3 separate regions of the Homo sapiens genome follow, and regions 1 and 2 are each linked to region 3. The links are contacts of gene promoters, found by promoter capture Hi-C in human tissues and cell types (Jung and others, 2019). All regions are on one chromosome and are shown on one strand. The core of a region is centred on a gene start or on the middle of the fragment in contact, and the rest is flanking DNA. Distances in the headings are between cores, read along the strand shown.

Evidence for each region. The method cuts DNA at HindIII sites, captures the fragments that hold promoters and counts their contacts. A contact is called where the count stands out against the background at its distance.
Region 1: a contact is called between a fragment that was not itself captured here and the fragment with the promoter of DNAH10 in region 3, in 2 of the 25 tissues and cell types used here (H1 embryonic stem cells and lymphoblastoid cells).
Region 2: a fragment that was not itself captured here is called in contact with the fragment with the promoter of DNAH10 in region 3 in 1 of the 25 tissues and cell types used here (H1 embryonic stem cells).

What each region holds. Positions count from the first base shown.
Region 1 is chr12:123,621,117-123,624,736 of GRCh38, reverse strand. It overlaps EIF2B1 (eukaryotic translation initiation factor 2B subunit alpha), which reads left to right. Exons shown (of 9, transcript NM_001414.4): 8 at 1,976-2,101; 9 at 2,817-3,620. The coding sequence ends at 2,981. Among named protein-coding and RNA genes, the nearest start is that of SNORA9B, 6.2 kb to the right of the region's middle. RefSeq lists an enhancer at 2,161-3,360. The HindIII fragment of the contact is 7,939 bases long and covers 1-3,620 here.
Region 2 is chr12:123,964,116-123,967,685 of GRCh38, reverse strand. The region is part of intron 1 of CCDC92 (coiled-coil domain containing 92); the gene reads left to right. Among named protein-coding and RNA genes, the nearest start is that of CCDC92, 6.9 kb to the left of the region's middle. The HindIII fragment of the contact is 5,683 bases long and covers 1-3,570 here.
Region 3 is chr12:123,760,480-123,764,386 of GRCh38, reverse strand. DNAH10 (dynein axonemal heavy chain 10) reads right to left here and starts at 2,086. Exons shown (of 79, transcript NM_001372106.1): 1 at 1,837-2,086. The coding sequence starts at 2,050. It overlaps ATP6V0A2 (ATPase H+ transporting V0 subunit a2), which reads right to left. Exons shown (of 20, transcript NM_012463.4): 20 at 2,632-3,907. RefSeq lists a silencer at 2,086-2,505. The HindIII fragment of the contact is 16,796 bases long and covers 1-3,907 here.

The DNA.
Region 1 (3,620 bases), core at 734-3,233, 140 kb after region 3:
TGCTGACCTAGGACACCACAGCAGTGTTGATTATGGTTCCTTCTAATCCTGCTTCACTTCAGGACTTCATCATGGTATTGAGTTGTTGCCCATTTCCCGTAAGTCATAGCAATGGGCAGTCCAGTTTCAGTCAAATCTTTTTTAGATTGATCTACATAAATGAAGACAATGTAATTTGGTCAGGTGTGATGCCTTATACCTGTAATCCTAGCAATTTGAGAGGCCAGGGTGGGAGGATCACTTGAGGCCTTGAGTTCAAGACCAGCCTGGGCAACATAGTGAAACCCTGTCTCTACAAAAAATTAGAAAAATTAGCTGGGCGTGGTGGTGCTTGCCTGTAGTTCCAGCTGCCCAGGAAGCTGAGGCAGGAGTATCACGTGAGCCCAGGAATTTGAGGTTGCAGTAAGTTATGATCACACTACTGCATTCCAGCCTGGGCGATGGTGAGACCCTGTCTCAGTAAAAAAAAAAAAAAAAAAAGTGTAATTTATATTTATACAAAATTGGCTTGAATTGGAATTGGGGTTTGTCTGGTTTTTGCTTTATTTATGTGTATATGTATGTTTTATTTATGCATATATATACACACACATAATATATATACACAAATATTTTTAAAATATTATTTATATATTTACATATAAAGTATGTATGTATAAAATACGTGTATTTATATATAAATATTATATATATTTTAAAATAGAGACACATTCACTCTGTTGCCCAGGCTGTAGTGTAGTACAGTGATCATAGCTTACTGCAGTCTTGAACTCCTAGCCTGAAGCAATCTTTCCACTTCCCAAAGTGCTAGGATTACAGGCATGAGCCACTGTGGCCGGCCTGTCATTTGTTTTCATTTTAATTGAGCACATTTGACCTCAATTTATTACAATCTCTCTCTCCATTATTTAATTTAGAAAAGCTTCATGAAAGCTTTTTTTAGTTAAAATATATGTAACATAAGGCCGGGCGTAGTAGCTCACGCCTATAATCCCAGCACTTTGGGAGGCTGAGGCAGGTAGATCATCTGAGGTCAGGAGTTCGAGACCAGCCTGGCCAACATGGTGAAACCCCATATCTACTAAAAATACAAAAAATTAGCTGGGCATGGTGGCGGGTGCCTGTAATCCCAGCTACTTGGCAGGCTGACGCAGGAGAATCGCTTGAACCTGGGAGGCGGAGGTCTGCAGGCAGAGTGTTGAGTCACATGGTAACTATATATTTAACTTTCAGAAACTAATGATTTTCCACAGCAGCTGCACTACTTTACATTCCCACTAGCAAAGCACAAAGGTTCCAATTTCTCTACATCCTTGCCAACACTTGTTTTTTTAAATTTTTTTATTTTTTGAGATGGAGTTTCACTCTTGCTGTCCAGGCTGGAGTGCAATGGCACAGTCTTGGCTCACTGCAACCTCCAGTGCCCGGGTTCAAGCGAGTCTCCTGCTTCAGCCTCCCTAGTAGCTGGGATTACAGGCACCCCCCATCCCACCATGCCCAGCTAATTTTTTGTATTTTTAGTAGAGATGGGGTTTCCCTATATTGGCCAGCTGGTCTCAAACTCCTGACCTCAGGTGATCCACCCACCTCGGCCTCCCAAAGTGCTGGGATTACAGGCGTGAGCCACCACATCCAGCCTCTAGTGGCTGTTTCTATATCCTTTGAGAAACATTTATTTTTTTGATTCCAAAGTCAGAATTAGATATATCTAATATATGTATTAGATATATGTATATCTATATTATATACATAACTTTCTATTGCTGTTTTTTAATTGTTCCTTTATTGTAATTGAGACGAGGTCTCACCGTGTTGCCTAGGCTGGTCCCAAACTCATGGGTTCAGGTGATCCACCCACCTCGGCCTCCCAAAATGCTGGAATACAGGCATGCACCACTGTGCCCGGCCCGCTTTTCTGTGGCTTCTACTTCAGATGCACTCTAGAGCTCATCCATTCCATTTTCTGCCTTCCCAGATTGGAACCAACCAGATGGCTGTGTGTGCCAAAGCACAGAACAAACCTTTCTATGTGGTTGCAGAAAGTTTCAAGTTTGTCCGGCTCTTTCCACTAAACCAGCAAGACGTCCCAGATAAGTTTAAGGCAAGAGTTTTACATATTTGAAGGGGTACTAAAGTCTAAACAGAAACCTTTGGAAATTGTAGTCCTAAGAATGTTCCAGTAATTTTTTCACTTCCTATTGCTACTTTCCCCAACACTTGGAATACAAAGATAAATTGGTGATTGGACTCACACATTTGTCCCTAGAACTTCAGTCTTTCAGTCTCTTTAAGTAGCACCATAGATGGGTGGAGAGGAAGCCCGAAGCTGGTGGGTAAGTCCCAGCTTTGGGCTTAACTGAGCTCAGCTCCCATCACCACAACTTACAAACTGTGCGAGTTGAGGCAAGTCCTTTCATTTCAACCTCTGAACCGGTTTTCTTGTCTGTAAAATGGCATAGCAGTATCTGACAGGGTCATGAGGATTCTAAGATAATCTTAGCACAGTCCCTGGCACGCTGCAAGCTCTCTATTGTGACTCTCGATCTTCCCTTGAGAGGTCTGGAGAAGTTAATCCGGCATGAGAATGAGGGGACATGGGATTTAAGTTTGTTACACTACAGCTCTCAGCCAGCACACTGCCATGATCTGGCTCATGGCCACAACTCTGCCCTCGTCTCTAGTGTCCTGCATAGCTTAGTTTCTCCCATTTTCAGAGAGCAGTCTCAGGAAGTAGCACACTGATCACTCACACCAAGGCCCTACCAGGTCAGAGCACTAAATATTCAGTGCCGACTAATGTGTACTTCTCTCCTCAGTATAAGGCAGACACTCTCAAGGTCGCGCAGACTGGACAAGACCTCAAAGAGGAGCATCCGTGGGTCGACTACACTGCCCCTTCCTTAATCACTCTGCTGTTTACAGACCTGGGCGTGCTGACACCCTCAGCAGTCAGCGATGAGCTCATCAAGCTCTATCTGTAACCTGTGAGCCCTTTCCTGCCAAGGTGCAGCTTACGTAGTTGAGGCAGGGTGAGTAGCTGCTTGACACCCCAGTGAGTCAGGCCAAAACTGAGATGTGTTTAATGAAGATTTATGGAGTAAGGACTTAAAATCATACATCTTGGAGAACCTTTCTTACTCATTTCAGTCCCATCTAAAAATGTGTCAGCTATTCTAAATCCCAACTTAAATTGTTCTTACGGTTTCTAGAAACTTTCCTTTTCAGTTTCCAGAAATACAAGTTAGATAATTGGCTACTTAACTGATGAAAGATGAGCCCAAGTCCACCTGTCTTCATCCTCCCCTGCACTCCAGACTGATCTGCCTAAAGCACGCGAGATGCAGGCGAAAAGCAGCCACACCCCTCTGCCACAAATGACCAACAGCTGGTCAGGACGTTACACGCGGTGCCTTGTAAGAGGCAAGAAACACTTGCTGAATCTGCATCTGGCTTCCAGTGGTAAGCACATTCCTCAGCAGGATCAAGCCAAACAGTAAAAACTACCAAGAGAACACGAGGAAGGCAGAAACGATGTTTAGCAACAGTATTCTGCATGGTTCACTGCTTAAGAAAATGCCTTCTGGAATATTTGTAAACTGAAATTCTGTATGTGTAAGAGA
Region 2 (3,570 bases), core at 468-2,967, 200 kb before region 3:
GAGGACACGTAAAAACACTGGGTTCCCAAGAGAAAGTTCCATCTCTGTCATACATAGCATAATTATCTTAGGCTCTCCATATTTTTCTAATGATAAGTGAACGTAAGAGGTTAGGCTCGTGCCATACCTTAAACATTGAAGGAGGCTTTTTGTAACTCCTTTCTCTTCGGCTGTCACACACATCAACCCAGATGAAAGGCACTGCTAGTGTTTCTGCCTCGGTGGCTAGTAGCGTGGGAGAGCAGATACACTTTTTAAAAATAGCCAAATCTTGCACATTGATAAGAAAGATGGAGAAAGGTTGGAGTTTTTCGCTCAGTTTTGTGTTCCCATAGATAAGAACATAGCAGAAGTTATTAGGTTTGGCCTGTCATTTTCAAGGAAGGTCAGTATCTGATACTGAGTCATCTTTATCTTCTGGTTGAGTCCCTATGACAAGACCAGAACGTTCTAGTAGAATAGAGCAGCAGCTTTCTGGCATTAAGGTACTTGCTCATTGACATGCCCTATTGCTCTCGGGGGAGGAAGGATGTGTAATCCTCCTCAGCCTCTGCAATGTGATTTCAAGTGAGGAATTGCTTTCCATCAATAAAGCGGTCAAGTCAGTTTTTGACAAGTTTATTAGTACAGTAAGACTGTGGTATCAGGACCCAGTTCAGAGGTGAACAAAGCCAAACCATATTGTTTGAGGGCAAAGGCAGGTTTTTAGGGGAGAGACAAAATAAATATCCAAGTAGAAACAAAGCTAGACTTGAGACCTTGGAGATAGGTTGACAGCTGTCTATTTGGAGGTTCTTGTGTCTCATCCCTTTTTGCAGGATGGAACTCAGAGCTTTGGATGACGACTGGCTAATTCTAGAACACTGCACTGAATGTTACTCATTAGCAGGCTGTGGTTAGAGCAGAGTGCCTTTCCAAGTAGTCTCAGGATGCCAGCGGGACCTGCCTGTGCAGTGACCATCTTGAGTCTGAAATTTAAGTGGAAAGCAGCAAATTAGCCATTCCTGTGTTTAGAGGAAAACTGAGTTTAGTTAGAAGGTGTGAAGTCGTTGGGGCCAGCATGTTCCTACTGAAGAAACTGGGAATCCTCGGCAGGTTAGTAGCAAGCAGAACTTTAGAGTCCCTTGAAGGAAGGTTGAAGTGATGTTTGGACTGCTGAACTGCAGAGTGAACCTGGGAATGAGATGCACTGACACCCTCATCAGTGCTTTCCATCAGTGTGCAAGACTTAGCTATTTCTCAAAAGAACACAGCTTCCTCTCACATGGAATGTCCTACCATTGGGGATGTAACCAGAAGCCTCTGAAGCCTACTCAGTTTTTTAGGTGAAGATCCCAGATTTTTGTTTGTCACAACTCTCATGGTTACATTTATAGGTAGGGAATCCAGCCACTTCAGTCCAGTTTCTGAAAATTCCTGGCTAGGTTATTTTTCAGAGTTCCATTTGGACATTTTACCACCTCTTCTGATTGTGGACAAGACAGTGAAGGCATTGATGAATGTGTAGGGCTTTACAGCTTTATTTACAATCCAATCTGGAAATGATGGACTCCTGTTACAAATAGACACACTTAATGTACCAAATCTGGAAATAAAATATTTCAGAAGTCTTTTTGACAGTCATTGTGTTAGCCTTTGCATGCATCTTCTATACCCAGTGAAATTACTAAAGCATTCACATGAAAACCCATTTTTTCTCATTTGAATAAAACTAATGTGAATATGCTTATAAATGCCTGCCTCCCACCCTACAGCCCCATCCGTAGATAAGCTGCTCTCGTTGTCTTTATGGCTACTTCCCACAACATGAATGGACGGGTCAAACAACTCACACAGTGCTGATGAGCTACACTGGTAAATTTGGAGCATGCCACCCACATATGATTTTCCCTGGCATCCCTTCTTGTTGGTGTGTACCAGGCCATGGGACACTGGAGCAAGATGAAGGCACTTTGGAGCTACCAAGAGGCTCTCTGAAACCCTGACAGTCTTTAGAGTCCCTTCTACGATGTGGGGCCTGATCTAGGACAGGGACAGTGTGGGAAAGAGCCACCATAAGGGACTGTTCAGTCTGAGAAAGATGACTGACCATAGATAACCTTGACCGTGTTATTCACCAAAGGAAGTATATTTCCAAAACAGCCCAACATGGGTTACATGAGGGCCGTGAGAAATGTAAGCTCCTCCAAGAGCGTGCAGCCCTCACTGTTTTCACAATTGTCCATAGTCAAGACAGGAAAAAGTGAGAAAGAAAAGCAGGACTTCATACTCCAGTGAGAGCGATAAACTTTGACTTCTGGACAGAATATACAGAGGTCAAGATGAATCAAGATTCCTCTTTATTGAGAAGAGATTGCATCCCAAAGATCAATTTGCTTTTCTGTGAGTGGTTAGTCTTGTCTCCTCAGTTATACACAAGTGTTTATTGATAGACCTCACTATATCTCGATGCACACGTACAAGCACACACGTCATTCCAAACAGTATATTTAACTGGCAATATATTTAGCGATTTAAAATTGTAGTTTTCAAATGTTATCAAACATATCAGGTGTCCTAATACGTCAATTGATTTTACCATCATAATTTGAGCTTTAAGAACAAGTATTTAAAAAAAAGACCCAGTATTCAAAAAAAGACCCAGCAGCTCATCCGTGGGGATTGTCAGGTGACGAGATGTTTTTTCCATTTGAATTTTAATTTCTTTATCAGTTTTTAGGTAAATATAAATTATTAACTAATTGCCTCACTATTCTGCTGGTACAAAGGGAATTAGGAACTTTAGAAAACAAAATTTACATTAAAAAATAATGCAATTGTTATTTAAAATTGGCAGAAATGTGATATCTTGAAACATTATTCAGCTAATGGAAGTAGAGTGACTCTTGGTTGTCATAATATTGTCTGGAATTTTTAAAAAGCAATTTATAAAGATACTAGTTTCTTAAATTACAGCTCCCTGTAATTTGTATACTCAGGTTTAGATTCACCTACTCTGAAATCATGGTGGTAGGTAGTCATTGAGCTGTTCTGTAAGGCAAGTGTCAAGAATTTAGGAAGTTCCATTTAATTTAGCCTTTGTGAAAAAATTCTACTTTTTGTATGAATTGTGTGCCCCACCCCCACTCCCAAATATTAGCTCCACAAAGGCAGAATTTTTATCTCTTCTATTTGTTGGTGTGTTCTGAGTGTCCTCCACAGTGTCTGGCTCAAAGCTGCTTAAAGATGCTTCCTTTATGGAAAGAATGAACTGTAATAATTTATATCACCCCCCCATATAGAAGACATAACCTTCTCTTATACCCCCAAATTCACAAAAATAGATATGAAAGGATTTTCTTTAAAAGTACTAAGAACTTGAATAATTTATGTAGTCTTCTGTGTTATATTGGAATAGCCTCCTTGTTGTTAATACAGACACTTTTTTTAAAAAAAAGATAAATAACTTTTCAGTTTGTACCTGTTACGTTTAAACTTTATTTTTAAACTGCTTTTATAACCTGAGCAATTGTTTTTATTTTGGGAGAGACCTTTTCCAAGTAGAAAACCATTTTAAGATTTACCAGCGCA
Region 3 (3,907 bases), core at 837-3,336:
TACATCCGAGGTCCAGTTATAATCTAATGTTCAGGTCCAAAGGTCTGCCAGGGAGAAAAAAATAATAGGCTGGAAGGTTAAATTCCAAAACGTGATCACGTGGTCCTCTCTCCAGATGGCACTAGGGATTTGTTATTGTTGTTTATTTATGGTTTTGGATTTATGATGAAGGCGTTTTATTTTGTGCAAGCAAATAATGAATATTTAAAATAAATGAAGGTGGCCAAGCGCGATGGTTCACACCTGTAATCCCAGCACTTCGGGAGGCCGAGGTGGGCAGATCACTTTAGGTCAGGAGTTCAAGAGCAGCCCGGCCAACATGGTGAAACCCTGTCTCTACTAGAAATACAAAAATCAGCCAGGCATGGTGATGGGTGCCTGTAATCCCAGCTACTTGGGAGGCTGAGTCAGGAGAATTGCTTGAACCAGGGAGGTGGAGGTTGCAGTGAGCCGAGATTGCACCACTGCACTCCAGCCTTGGCGACAGAGCTAGACTCTGTCTCAAAAAAAAAAAAAAGAAGTGGCCAGGTGCCAGATGGCTAACACCTGGAATCCCAGCACTTTGGGAGGCCGAGGCGGGAGGATCACTTGACCTCAGTAGTTTGAGACCACCCTGGGCAACATGGTGAAACCTGTCTCTACCAAAAATATAAAAATTAGCCAGGCATGGTGACGCATACCTGTAGTCCCAGCTACTCAGGAAGCTGAGGTGGGAGAATCACTTGAGCCCTGGAGGCAGAGGTTGCAGTGAGTCAAGATCGCACCACTGCACTCCAGCCTGGGTGACAAAGTGAGACCCTATCTCAAAAAAAAAAAAAAAAAAGTTAAAAAATAGAATACAATAAATGAATCTGCCTGGTACCTTTAAAAAAAAAATCAAAGGTCTGCCGGCCCTGCCACCCGAACCCAGTGAGAGGCCCTGCAAGGGATCCCCAAGTCCTTAAGGGGCTGGAAAAGTAGCCCAGGAGACTGGACAGCCAGGCAGGAGGTCCCGGTAGCTGTGCTCCAGCTGGTGCTCCTGCGAGGAGGCGGCTTTCGAGGTCCCAGTCTCCTTCTAGCTGTTTCTGAAGCGAGTTGTCCTGCCTCCTCCTCTCACCTGTGCTGGCCCCTCCCTGCCCTCTCAGTGTCCCTGGCCTATCAGAGAGTAGGTGGGGCTGGGGATCCGCCTCCACAGAGGGTTCTGGGACCCTGGTCACTGTCTTTTTGTATTTGCGATGCTAATTTGTTCAACATAAACATTTAAAGTCTACTGTAGTTTTTAAACTTTGTCCTAGCCTTATTTTACTTTTTAGGATATAAGGAGCCTCCAGAAGTAGAAAGGGGTGCTCTTCGGACCCTCCGTGAGAGGCTGCGACCGTCAAGGAGAGTGACAGTGACCTGGGTCCCTGCCACACCTGGGCATGGCTCTACCCAGCCGTTCGGATTATTGCACAGTGGATCTTGACGCCCCGTGGGCCTTGGGCAGGTTACTTAACCCCCTCCGTGCCAGTTTGCTCATCTGTAAAATAGGGATGAGGATACACCCGCCTCGTAGGGTTAAGGAGTTGATACAAGCGTTGGAACCGCACCTGGCACGGGGTGCGGGCTAAGTCAGTGTTTGCTGTGATTTTTCAATCAAGGCCTGACTTTCAAGTGGGCTGTGGGCCCAGGAGGGCAGGGACGGCTGTGATTGCTGGGTTCGCCCGGGGCCTGCACGTGGCGGGCGGCAGCGTTTGTGGACAGCACCTGAGGCCGGGGCCGGACGATGGGCAGGCTCTAGCAGCCCCGGCGCCCGCCGGAGAGGCCGGGACGGGCAGGAGGGAAGCCCGGGGAAGGGAGCGGCGCGTCGAGGCTCACCAATCTCCACCTCCACCTCCTCCGGCACCATAGTGCGGTAGATGAAGAGCGCCGAGGGCCCCTCCTCCTCGCTCGCCTGGTTGAGGAAGTGCAAGATGAGGTCCTCGCCCTGGCCGTCGTCGCGGTTGAGCAGGTCCTCGAAAAGCTGGGGGTCGGTGATGCCGAAAGCCGCATACACGCGGTCGCGCATCCACAGCACCCGCAGGTCGTCCATGGCGCCGCGCAGTGCAGAGGGAGCCGGGCGCAGGGCGGGCGTCCGTGGCAACGGCGGCCCTAGCAATGGGCGCCCCGGAAACGGCCGCAGCTCGCCCCGCCGACGGCGCCGGCGCTGGGGGCTGCAAGCTCGGCAGTGCCCCGCGCCCGGCCCCTCGATCCCGAACCCGCGAGCCGCAGCCCACGCCCCGGCCCCGGGATCTCGGAGGCGCGCACCAGGCCCCCGGGCCGCCGAGGTAGGCTGGTTGCTCCCTGGCCCCGGCAGCGCGCACGCCCCTGGATGCGGAGCGGGACCCTCGCCGCCAGGAGCCGCCCTCGGGCCGCTGCAGCCGAGGGTGCGACCCCACCCCACGCCGACCGGTTTGCAAGCAGCCCGCCCACCTTGCAGATGAAGCTGGGGCTAGAGAGTTGGCGAGACGAAGGTCACAGCACCTCGGCGGTGGCAGAGGCGGGATTAGAGGCCAGACGAGGAGGAAATAAGCCGAGAAAGCACGAGTTCCTCATGGCCTACAAAATCAGGGAAGGAGCAGAGTTCTTTAGCTTTCTTGCCAAACTAGAGCATAATAAAGCAAAACACCCACGTTTAAAAATATAGATATATTTATTTGTCATTAGCAAAAGGAAGTTAAATACTGATAGAAGATGCAAATTTGTCCTTTCATGCATTTGTGGAGCAAAGTACTAACTTGTTCACTGTCATTTCCCCTCACAAGGAGTTGAGCCCCTAGATGACTCAGGCTAACCCTAAGAACCTACCTAGCCTTCTTAGATATTCCCATCAAAGAACAGGTGGAGTGTACTAAGTATTTCTGAAAATTCTAAACCAAATCAGCAAAAATGGCCTGACTGTGGGAAGACTGTTCGTTCAAACTGCCTTATTCCCATCATCTTGATTTGACAGCTTCATAATAACCTTCCTGGATATATTCCCTGTGGCACGCAAGCAAACCCGGCTTTACGTTTTTAATAGAGGAATTTATTGTTTTAAATGCGGACTGTAGAATAGGTGTAGAAGTTGTTTTTCTTTTCCAAAATGTATCAGGCTCTAAAACGTCTGAATATGTAATTCATGGACATCGTAAGGCTGACCTATGCTACAGGTATTCTGTGCCTTATTAAACAACTGCAGAGGGCCAGGCGCGGTGGCTCACGCCTGTAATCCCAGCACTTTGGGAGGCCAAGGTGGGTAGATCACCTGAGGTCAGGAGTTTGAGACCAGCCTGGCCAACATGGTGAAACCCTGTCTCTACTAAAAATACAAAAATTAGCCGGGCACTGTGGCAGGCGCCTGTAATCCCAGCTACTCGGGAGGCTAGGGCAGGAGAATTGCTTAAACCCAGGAGGCAGAGGTTGCAGTGAGCCGAGACTGCACCACTGCACTTCAGCCTAGGTGACAGAGTGAGACACTGTCTCAAAAAAAATAAAAAAATTTTTAAATAAACAACTGCTGAGGGGATGCTGACACCAGAATGTTGTTATAAAATATCCATTCCAGAAACAGAGCAGCATTCAGCGAAAGAGGAGTTCCAAGTCCTTTCGCTGCTGGAAAGTCCGCAGGGCTCACCCAGATCCTATCAGACAGAACACCCTTTGCACTCCTTAACTGACCACGGCAATTACAGTCTCCAGCCCAGCAGGTTGAATCAAAGTCTAGTTTACTGAAGAAATCCCTTGGGTTTTAAGATTCTGTTAACACATGGTAATAAACATCTAAATAAAAACTGAGAAATGTCGTGTCGTGACATTTATCTTTAGGAAAATAAACATATTCAGTATCATCCACACAACTTGCCATCTGTGCTCTGGATCTCTGCTATCAAGGGAATGAAGTATGTTTTAAAAACTGGATACATAATAG